3 separate regions of the Homo sapiens genome follow, and all the other regions are linked to region 3. The links are contacts of gene promoters, found by promoter capture Hi-C in blood cells and fetal thymus (Javierre and others, 2016). All regions are on one chromosome and are shown on one strand. Each heading gives the region's core, a stretch centred on a gene start or on the middle of the fragment in contact. The rest is flanking DNA. Distances are from core to core; before and after follow the strand shown.

What was found. The method cuts DNA at HindIII sites, captures the fragments that hold promoters and counts their contacts. A CHiCAGO score of 5 or more calls a contact.
Region 1: the fragment with the promoter of MAOA here is called in contact with the fragment with the promoter of GPR34 in region 3 in 6 of 17 cell types (naive CD8 T cells, total CD4 T cells, monocytes and 3 more); the score reaches 9.8 in naive CD8 T cells.
Region 2: a contact is called between the fragment with the promoter of CXorf38 here and the fragment with the promoter of GPR34 in region 3, in 1 of 17 cell types (monocytes). The highest score is 6.2, in monocytes.

What each region holds. Positions count from the first base shown.
Region 1 is chrX:43,655,031-43,658,263 of GRCh38, reverse strand. It overlaps MAOA (monoamine oxidase A), which reads right to left and starts at 1,965. Exons shown (of 15, transcript NM_000240.4): 1 at 1,850-1,965. The coding sequence starts at 1,922. RefSeq lists an enhancer at 3,072-3,131 and a silencer at 3,063-3,233. The HindIII fragment of the contact is 10,667 bases long and covers 1-3,233 here.
Region 2 is chrX:40,645,905-40,649,104 of GRCh38, reverse strand. It overlaps CXorf38 (chromosome X open reading frame 38), which reads left to right and starts at 1,544. Exons shown (of 7, transcript NM_144970.3): 1 at 1,544-1,800; 2 at 1,964-2,098. The coding sequence starts at 1,585. It overlaps MED14 (mediator complex subunit 14), which reads left to right. Exons shown (of 31, transcript NM_004229.4): 31 at 1-800. RefSeq lists silencers at 1,328-1,508, 1,344-1,643, 1,764-1,913 and an enhancer at 2,164-2,363. The HindIII fragment of the contact is 2,915 bases long and covers 1-2,278 here.
Region 3 is chrX:41,687,431-41,690,423 of GRCh38, reverse strand. It overlaps GPR34 (G protein-coupled receptor 34), which reads right to left and starts at 1,451. Exons shown (of 3, transcript NM_001097579.2): 1 at 1,340-1,451; 2 at 589-681. The region is part of intron 5 of CASK (calcium/calmodulin dependent serine protein kinase); the gene reads left to right. The HindIII fragment of the contact is 2,059 bases long and covers 1,382-2,993 here.

The sequences.
Region 1 (3,233 bases), core at 716-3,215, 2.0 Mb before region 3:
ACAAGAAAAAGACTAAGAATAAAATCCCAGAAAGAACTCTGAATTGCAGAATACAGATGGTATGGAGATGGGAGAGGACCCAGAACCCCTAGTCAATGTATATAACACATTGTCATCATATTTATTTTCCAGTGATCTACAACCATATTGCTTTTAGGAGGCTTGCCTAGTGGGACCAGATTTTGGGAAACAGCAGTCCACTTCATTGCAGGTACTCAACAAGTGTTTTTTGAATGAATAAATAAATACATAAATAAATAAAGAGAAACAAGCTGAAATACTCCTTTTTCTTACTCTCCACCAGGAGCTGCTTTCCTCTGATGCTCCAACATACATGTATGTTTTTGCTGGTACTGGCTGGAACTGGCAAAGCAACAGTTCATGCCAATCTCTTCTCTTGGCCTGTTCAGGATAAACAATGTTGGGTTCAGATAAAGCTATCTCTACCCAACATTAATTTGTAGCATGTTCAGAGTCTCCTCGAAAGATTTATATATAAAAATGGCTACTGTGGGGCCACTCTACTTACTCCCTCCCATCAGCTTTCTCTTTCTGAATCAGATCCTGCAGGGATAACTCAGAAATTATTAACACCTAGTAGGGGGAGGATAGGTCAGTGTGGTATTCTAGCCAGGGATGAAAGGCAACAAAATTCCTAATTTTCAAACATTTTACCAATGATGGCAACATAGGCGACAATATATCAATCATGATGAGGCTTCCAGGAAGATATTGGAAAGCCTCATGCACCACTCACTTGGTTAGCCACAAATCCAAGCCAGGACCAGGGGCACCCTGGCCCACCAACTGGCTCATCAGAAGACAAGATTCAGGTGGTGGGAGCTCTTAGTGAAAGGAGGAAGGAGGATACAACAGGGCACTCAGCCCCTGCTTCATAAAGGGATTCTCTTTGGACAATAAATGTCCTACACCTTCCTGCAAGTTCATATATATATATACACACACACAGTTCATATATATATATATATAAACACAGTTCATATATATATATATAAACACAGTTCATATATATATATAAACACAGTTCATATATATATATAAACACAGTTCATATATATATATAAACACAGTTCATATATATATATAAACACAGTTCATATATATATATAAACACAGTTCATACACACACACACACACACACACACACACACACACACAGGAATAGTTTAAGAGCTCACCCCCTCTTCTCCTCTTTTTTTTTTTAACCTTTTCTTAAAGGAGTCTACCTCCTTCCTCTTCACCTACTAAATTTTCTACGGAAAATAGAGAAGAGCAGGACTGGAATAACACTACTGCTCCCTCAATACTACAGAAATCTGTATCCTGATGTTCTGTTTAGGGCAAAGGATATGAAATCAGTGAGGCAAAGCAGCCACCTCAGGAATTAGTACTGCAGGTCTTAAATGGGAGAAAATCGTTCAGCCACTTACAAGCTAGGTGATTCGACCTCAAGAGAGTTATTGAAACTCCCCAGACCTCAGTTTCTTGGTTTTGCAAAACGGGGATGAATTTAGTTCCCACCTCACAGGACTGTTGAGGACTGAGAAAATCCACGTAAAGTGCTAAATACAACTGCACAGCAAGAGCTAATTAAATATTAGTATTTAATAGTAGTAGTAGTAAAATTATTGTGTCTGCCTCCCCCAGTCACACCACCAGCAAAACTGGCACAACCCCCACTCCTACCTCGCAGGATATGGGGCCAAGCCATGGCTACACTACACTCTCGCATGCATGAGAGACCCCCAAACACCACAAGAGCTACTGTAGGTTCCCCTACCCCTCACTGGCCAGGGTCCCCCAGGCCACCGCTACGGTCCACACTGACCTGAAATGCCACCTCCGATCACGACTACGTCGAACATGTGGCCCGCGATACTCGCCTTCTCTTGATTCTCCATGCTTTGGCTGACACGCTCCTGGGTCGTAGGCACAGGAGTGGGGACGGCAAAGGGTGGGAAGGACCCTTCTATCAACTCCCCCGGGGAGCCCGGGGGCGGAGCCGATCCTTCTTTTGATACCCGGGGGGAGCCGGGCACTGTGGGCGGGGCGAACCCTTTTGCTGATACTCCGGGAGCGCCCAGGGGCGGAGCTGATGTTTCAGCTGATACCCGGGGGGAGCTGGGCACTGAGAGCGGGGCGGACCCTTGTACTGACACTCGGCGAGAGTTATTAGGTTTAGAATGTCCTTGTGTCGGCAGCTGGAAAGGATTACTGGGTGCAGGAGGTTCTTGTATTGAACCCCGCGGAGTGTCAGGCACTGAGGTGGGGGTAGACGCCTGCCTTGACACTGGGGGGATGTTATGGGGTGCAGGAGGTGCTTGTGGCGACACTGGGGAAATGTTATTGGGTAGAGGTGGTCCTGGTACCAAACCCCAGGGGAAGCTGGACACTGAGGATGCGGCAGACCCTTGTACTGACACTCGGGGGTGTTACTGGGTGTAGGAGGTGCTTGTATTGACACTTGCGAAAGGTCATTGGGTATAGGAGGTCCCCGTACAAATATCCAAGTGTAGTCGGACACTGAGGTCAGGTTGGAATCCGGGGGCAGGGTCGGTCCTTTTACCAAACCCCGTGGGGTGCTGAACCCTGAGGAGAAGGCAGACCCTTGCAATGACTCTACGGGGGAGTTTACGGGCGGGGTAGGTCCTGTTACTAATACCCAGGGAATGCCGGTGTCCTGATTGGAGGCTGTGACGGCCCCATCGGAGGAGTTCGAGCTGGTGGTAGACTTGGGGATCCGACTGCTCGGGTTGTAAGCGCTGAAACCCCGGAGGCCACTCTTGGAGTCGGAGTCAGTACTCTCGCTAAGACCGGTAGTGCTGATTGGGGAGTGTATGCTGGAGCTCCAGGAGGCGGCCTCGGCAGTTGAGGACGTGCTCCACTGGGAACTGGCTAGCGGATCCGAGACGGACCGCCACTCAGAACGGACGCTCCATTCGGACAGGCTGTAGGAGGTGTCGTCCAAGCTGGAGTCCGGGTTCGGGACCTGGGCAGTTGTGCCCCCGGCTTCGGGCGGGCCCTCCGCCTTGCGCTCGGTGCCGGTGCCGGTACTGGTGCGGGTACTGGTGCCGGTGCCGGTACTGGTGCGGGTACTGGTGCCGGTGCCGGTACTGGTGCGGGTACTGGTGCCGGTGCCGGTGCCGCCGGGGAAGGAGGCTGAGGCGTTTGTGCTCATGTTTCTGGAGCACGCTGGGCGCTGGGGGCGGTGT
Region 2 (3,200 bases), core at 295-2,794, 1.0 Mb after region 3:
TGTTCCTTTCATAGTTTTTCCCCCCAAAAGAAGTGCCTATTACATTTTACCTTAATGTTTATTTATCATCCAAGTGTTCTTGATATAAAATCAGTATACAGAAAATTTTAAGAGAACTTACATTCAAGGGACATAGAGGGAAAATGTTAATGTGTATTTCATTGTTTCTTGTGGAATTTTTTTTTCATTCGGTTTGAGAATGGACAGTGTGTCTAAGGATGTGATTTAAATTTACTTAGGATGGATTTAGCATTGAGGTTATTAAGACAAAGTTAGCAGAGGCCAGCCAGCACTGTGCTGCACAACTCCAGGAACTCCATGGTATGCTCACAATTTTCTGCAAGTTGCCTCCACTTCCAAGTGGCCAGTGATTTGTTAAAATACCTTGCCCAAGAATATAACTGATTGATGAAAGGGCATATTTAGGTCAATATAAAATAATAGCAAGTATTTACTGAGAGCTTACTGTGTGCTAGGCATTTTCTTAATATTTCAATGTGTATTTAATCCTCACAACAACCCAATGTGGTAGGTTATTGATATCCTCTTCTTAAAAATGAGTAAATGGAGGCCCAGAGAAATGTAATTTGCCTGAGATCAAATTAAGGTTGCTTAAGATCAAACTGCTAAGAAGGGGCAGTTTGAGTCTGAGCTAGTGCTCCTAAACACTGGACATTTTTGCTGTGAACCACAGTCGGGAAGGTTTAATGTTTAGACTCTTTCCTCAGAGGCTTTTAACTACACACAATTTTGACATGTTTTCCAAGCTCAGAAAGCTCATTAAAAACAACTAAAACTGACCTGACTTGTCACTTGGAGTTGACAATCCCAGTGCCTTCTGACCTTTGTGGCACTTCTTTGGAACTTAAATCAGACTTCCATGTGCAAGGAGCACTAATTATCATATAATCAAGAATACTAGATAATTATCGTCTAACCTTTGCTAGGTGCTTCAGGATGCCCTTATCTGGCTCAGGTGTGCAGCCTTCTAGAATCCAAGTGATGTGTTGCCCTAAACAGGCAAACGCCCCCTTCTGGGTGGTCCAGTGGCGGGGGATTTTGAGTTTTGGGTTAGCTTGGCACACCGCAGGCAGCCAGCGGTCACGTTTCACTAATACCTCAATTTGCTACAGCTGGTCTGTGGGCTTAGGAACCAGTAACTCTAGAATTGTATAATGCAAAGAACATACACGATTCAAGCAATGTGCCCTGAGCACCTTGTACATCTGGACAATAAAAAAAAGTTAAAACAGAAGTGCCCTACATTAGGAGAGGGAGTCGAATCGGATGCTGACAGGGTCTCTGTTTGGGGGACGAAGAGGGCCTAAGGGTTTCAAATAGTTAACTGCTTCCCCAAGCACCAAAGTTGTTAGACGTCAGACGTCAGACGTCACCCAAGTGGGGTGGAGCCGACGTGCCCCGGAAGTCAAGATGCCCCGCCCCGGGATCGGTGGCACCGCGCCGCGCAGGCGCAGGCGTCGCTGCCGCCGGCGCAGGCGCCGCTGCCTCGGGTACTTCCCAGGCTCCGCGCCTGCGCACTGCCGTCCGCCACGCCCCGCAACCTCCTGGTTCCAAGTGGGAGACATGGTGCTGTCGGAGCTAGCGGCGCGCCTCAACTGCGCCGAGTACAAGAACTGGGTGAAGGCGGGCCACTGCCTGTTACTGCTGCGCAGCTGCCTGCAGGGTTTCGTCGGCCGCGAGGTGCTCTCCTTCCACCGCGGCCTACTCGCCGCAGCCCCCGGCCTGGGGCCCCGCGCCGTCTGCCGCGGCGGCTCACGGTGCAGCCCTCGCGCCCGCCAGGTGAGCACCTGGCTCGGGGCCTTGACCACCGCCCCCACCCCACCCCTCCTCATCCCCGTTCCTGTCCCAGACCCAGAGCGCAAGTGTCCTGTTCCCTCCGCGATGCGGGGCCCACCGCGACGTCCCTCCCTCCTGGGCCCCTCCTCACCGCCGCCCCCTGTAGTTTCAGCCTCAGTGTCAGGTGTGCGCTGAATGGAAAAGGGAGATTTTGAGACATCATGTCAACAGAAATGGAGATGTGCACTGGGGAAACTGCCGGCCGGGCCGCTGGCCCGTGGACGCCTGGGAGGTGGCCAAGGTAAGCGCCTGAGGCGGGGACGGAAGGAGGAAGCGGCGGGTCACCCAGCACTCGGGGTGGCTATCTGGTCTTGTGGTCGCCGGGGCCTCATAAACAGATGCAGAGAGAGAGATTGATCAAGGGTCTAGGCGGTTCAGGGGTGGTATGCGGGACCCAACCCAGCTTAGTGAAGTAGAAGCTTTCTTCTACCCGTCTGCTTCCTGAGGGCATTTGAGTTTGTTACCCCTGCTTGGAAAGTTACAGGAAAGAGTTCTACAAGAGATACTGGGGCAAGATGCAGAGCGAGCATCATGAGCACAGGCAGGGAGGGAGGGAGACTCTTGTGTGGCCTGTTTGAGGGTAAGGCTCGCTGAACAGCTCATCAGCTCTTTTTTGGCTATAGGATGCCGTAAGGATGACAGAGTAAGCCAAGGGAAGTTAGGGCTAAAATAGCACCTTAAGTGCCCAGTTAAAGGCACTTTGGGTAGCTGGGAATGGGGTAGGCAGCCGGATCTGTCTTCAGATCTTGGCAATGTCACTTACTAAGTAGATCGAGTAGGAAATTTTTTTGCCCAGTAAGGGACGGAGAGGGACAGCCAGAAGTGGCTTCCTAACACAAATTGACTTTAGCAGTCAGTCTACATGCCAGTAGTTATCAGCAGGCACAGGGTGGGCACTGGAAAGGAGCAGTGCCTGGGAAGCAGATGATCTGAGTCCTGGATCAGCTGCCGTGGTGTGACACTGGGCCAGCTTGTGCTCCCCAATCTCAAAAATGAAAGGACGGCCGGGCGCAGTGGCTCACGCCTGTAATCCCAGCACTTTGGGAGGCCGAGGCGGGCGGATCATGAGGTCAGGAGATCGAGACCACGGTGAAACCCCGTCTCTACTAAAAATACAAAAAAATTAGCCGGGCGCAGTGGCGGGCGCCTGTAGTCCCAGCTACTCGGGAGGCTGAGGCAGGAGAATGGCGTGAACCCGGGAGGCGGAGCTTGCAGTGAGCGGAGATCGCGCCACTGCACTCCCGCCTGGGCGACAGAACGAGACTCCGTCTCAAAAAAAAAAAAAAAAAAAAAAAAAAAAAAAAAAAAAAAAAAAAATGAAAGGAATTGGGGCCGGGCGCGGT
Region 3 (2,993 bases), core at 202-2,701:
AGTGAGCTGTGTTCATGCCACTGTACTCTAGCCTGGGCAACAGAGCGAGAGTCTGTCTCAAAAAAAAATTTTTTTTTTAATTAAAAATCACAATTACATTCTGTTTTAAACTTGGTGACTGTTTTTTTTTCTCCTTTGAAGTTGGTTAGTACATTACAATGTCATTCACTATATAAGGCTATTTACTGATATTTTTTAAACTACCTGTTTGATATGTTAAGAATTGCTTGTGAAGACAAGAAACAAACCACTGTGTTTACATAGGGGATTAATTTCCCAGTGGGCATTACTTGTGACCCATGTGCTATATTGAAGTGGTCACAATAGTTTTGTAATAGTAGATAGTGTTTTTTAAATGTTGTTACTTGGCAAATCCTATTCACAAGTTCAAAAACCTAGTATTAGTGCATTGTACCCCCGCACCACCACCTACTCCTGCAGTTTTTTTTCAACTGGCTCATGTAGGAGTACTGGACCCAGAGGGCAGGACCCAACAGATTCCACTGTGACTCCAGATGAGCAGAAGCTTTTAAAATGCAGTTTGGGTATGTTTGTGAAAATATCACATTGCTATGTTGAAATACATACCTATTTGGTAATAGTCGCAACCTTTCACCGTTTTTAGTTTGACTTGATAATGACTGAATCTATTCAGGGCATGCTTCAAAATTGCATTAACTGCTGTATAAAAAATGAAAATTGAAAACATATTACTTTGGAAATAATACTATTAATAGTGTGTTAGGTTTTGTTACAAATTTAACTGTGTCCCTAGAAACACATTTTAAAAAATTATTATTTGAACTAAAGCATATTTTGCTTTCTCTCTTATCTAATATTCACCTTATTTACTTCTGAAACACCAAACTTAAATGTTATATGGTCTGGTAATACTATAAAATAGTAATAATATAATAAAGAAAAGACAGTAATTTAAAATAGGGAGACAGCATAACTTAAAGTCAATAAGTTATAATTTATAATACATTAGAAATAAAATGTATTGCATATGAAAATAACTTTTAATTCATGCAAGTAGATCTGCAAAATCTTGATGGCAGTATCCAAATGCAGTATCAACAATGTGACTATATTGACAGTAGGAGCTTAAATACCTTGAATGTCTTAAAGTACTTAAAGTAACTAAAAAGACAGTCTCATTTGAAATCAAGGCAGAGGTGTCATTCAAGCAATTTACTCAGTAGTTCTAAAAGCGAATAACTGCTGACATTAGAGTAGCCTTATCACCATGAATCACGTTTCACTTTGAATGTTCAGATAATCAAATTTTAGCTGAAATAAAGGTTCATTTATGTAGCCGAAATCAAGAAATACTCACAGTTCAGGTTCGCCTGAAGTAAAAGGAGCAGAACCCCAAGCTTCCCTAGACACTGAGACTCGTCTTGGTTGTGTCAGCTGGGCTCTTCCATCCGGTCGTGGTGCAATTGGTTGGGGTTCTCTTCTTTTTTATGTTCATATGTGGTGGTAGGGTTTTTTTTTTCCCCCTCTTTTTTTTTTTCTTTTTTCGGTATGACAACTCTCAGATTCCTTTTGAAAATATTAAAAAGCCCTACTACCATGGAACAACTTTAAGCTCAACCAACACTGAACTTTAGGAAATTATTTATATCTTCTTTATGAATACCTTCCAACTTGACAATTGTGGAATGTTTTCCTCCCCCCGCTCAAAATTTAAAAGTTTTATAAATTCTAAGCAGAAATATGTATTTTCTGTGTTTTGTAAGAAATGATACATAATATGCTATATGGACTTTCAAAGCACAAGCACTGAATTTCTGTTTCTTAAGTTTTCATCTGTACATTATTTTAGCATATTTTCATGTATTCCTTTAAGACCTTTGCTAAAACAAACTTGTATTATTAGGACTAGATGAGATTTCTGATGGTGTTCTCCCCTTTTGATCACTATGATAAACTCTCCCGAGCAAATTAAAACATCACCTGTATTTTAAGCGAAATAATGATGGGATTCTGCAGTCTTGGTTTTGATCCTAGTCCAAAATTTAACCACTATCTGTCCATCTATGTAACTGCTGGCCCTGCAGTTTAGTGTTATTTCCCTTTTTTTGTTGTCATTTGAAATGAAGAAGTTAGTTTTTATTCTCCCCATAATTGTTATCCTGCAGCTTGTTTGCACTAAATATTTGACTCATTGGGCTGTATCTAACATTCTAATTATTTCTGGGTACACTCTTCTGAACATTATATTCTCCAGAGCTTTTTGTTTGTTATAAATATGATTTATGGGACAGGATATTTTTAAATTAATAGAATAAAAATGTTTTGTAGCTCTTACTTCCCCTTAGAACCTCTGAGAAGGAAGGTGGTTGCTGTATTAGTCCTGCAATATTGTTGTATTGGCAGGATTTTATTTTATTGTGGTACAATATGTAACATTAAATTTACCATCTTAACTTTTTTTTTTTTTTTTTTTTTTGAGACGGAGTTTCGCTCTTGTTGCCCAGGCGACAAGAGATTGTACAATGGCACAATCTCGGCTCACTGCAGCCTCCACCTCCCAGGTTCAAGCGATTCTCCTGCCTCAGCCTCCCAAGTAGCTGGGATTACAGACATGCACCACCATGCCCGGCTAATTTTGTATTTTTAATAGAGACAGGGTTTTGCCATGTTGGCCAGGCTAGTTTCAAACTCCTGACCTCAGGTGGTCCACCCACCTCAGCCTCCCAAAGTGCTGGGATTACAGGTGTGAGCCATTGCGCCCAGCCCCATCTTAACCATTTTTAAGTATACAATTCAATAGTGTTAAGTATATTCACATTGTTGTGCAACAGTTTCTAGAAGTTTTTCATCGTGCAAAACTAAAACTCTTCACCACTAAACGATTTCTCTCCTCTCCCCCTGCCCTTGACAATCATGATTCTTTATGTTTCATTGATTTGGACTACTTTGGACACTTCATATGAGTGGAATCACACAGTATTTGTCCTTTTGTGACATGTTTATTTCACTTG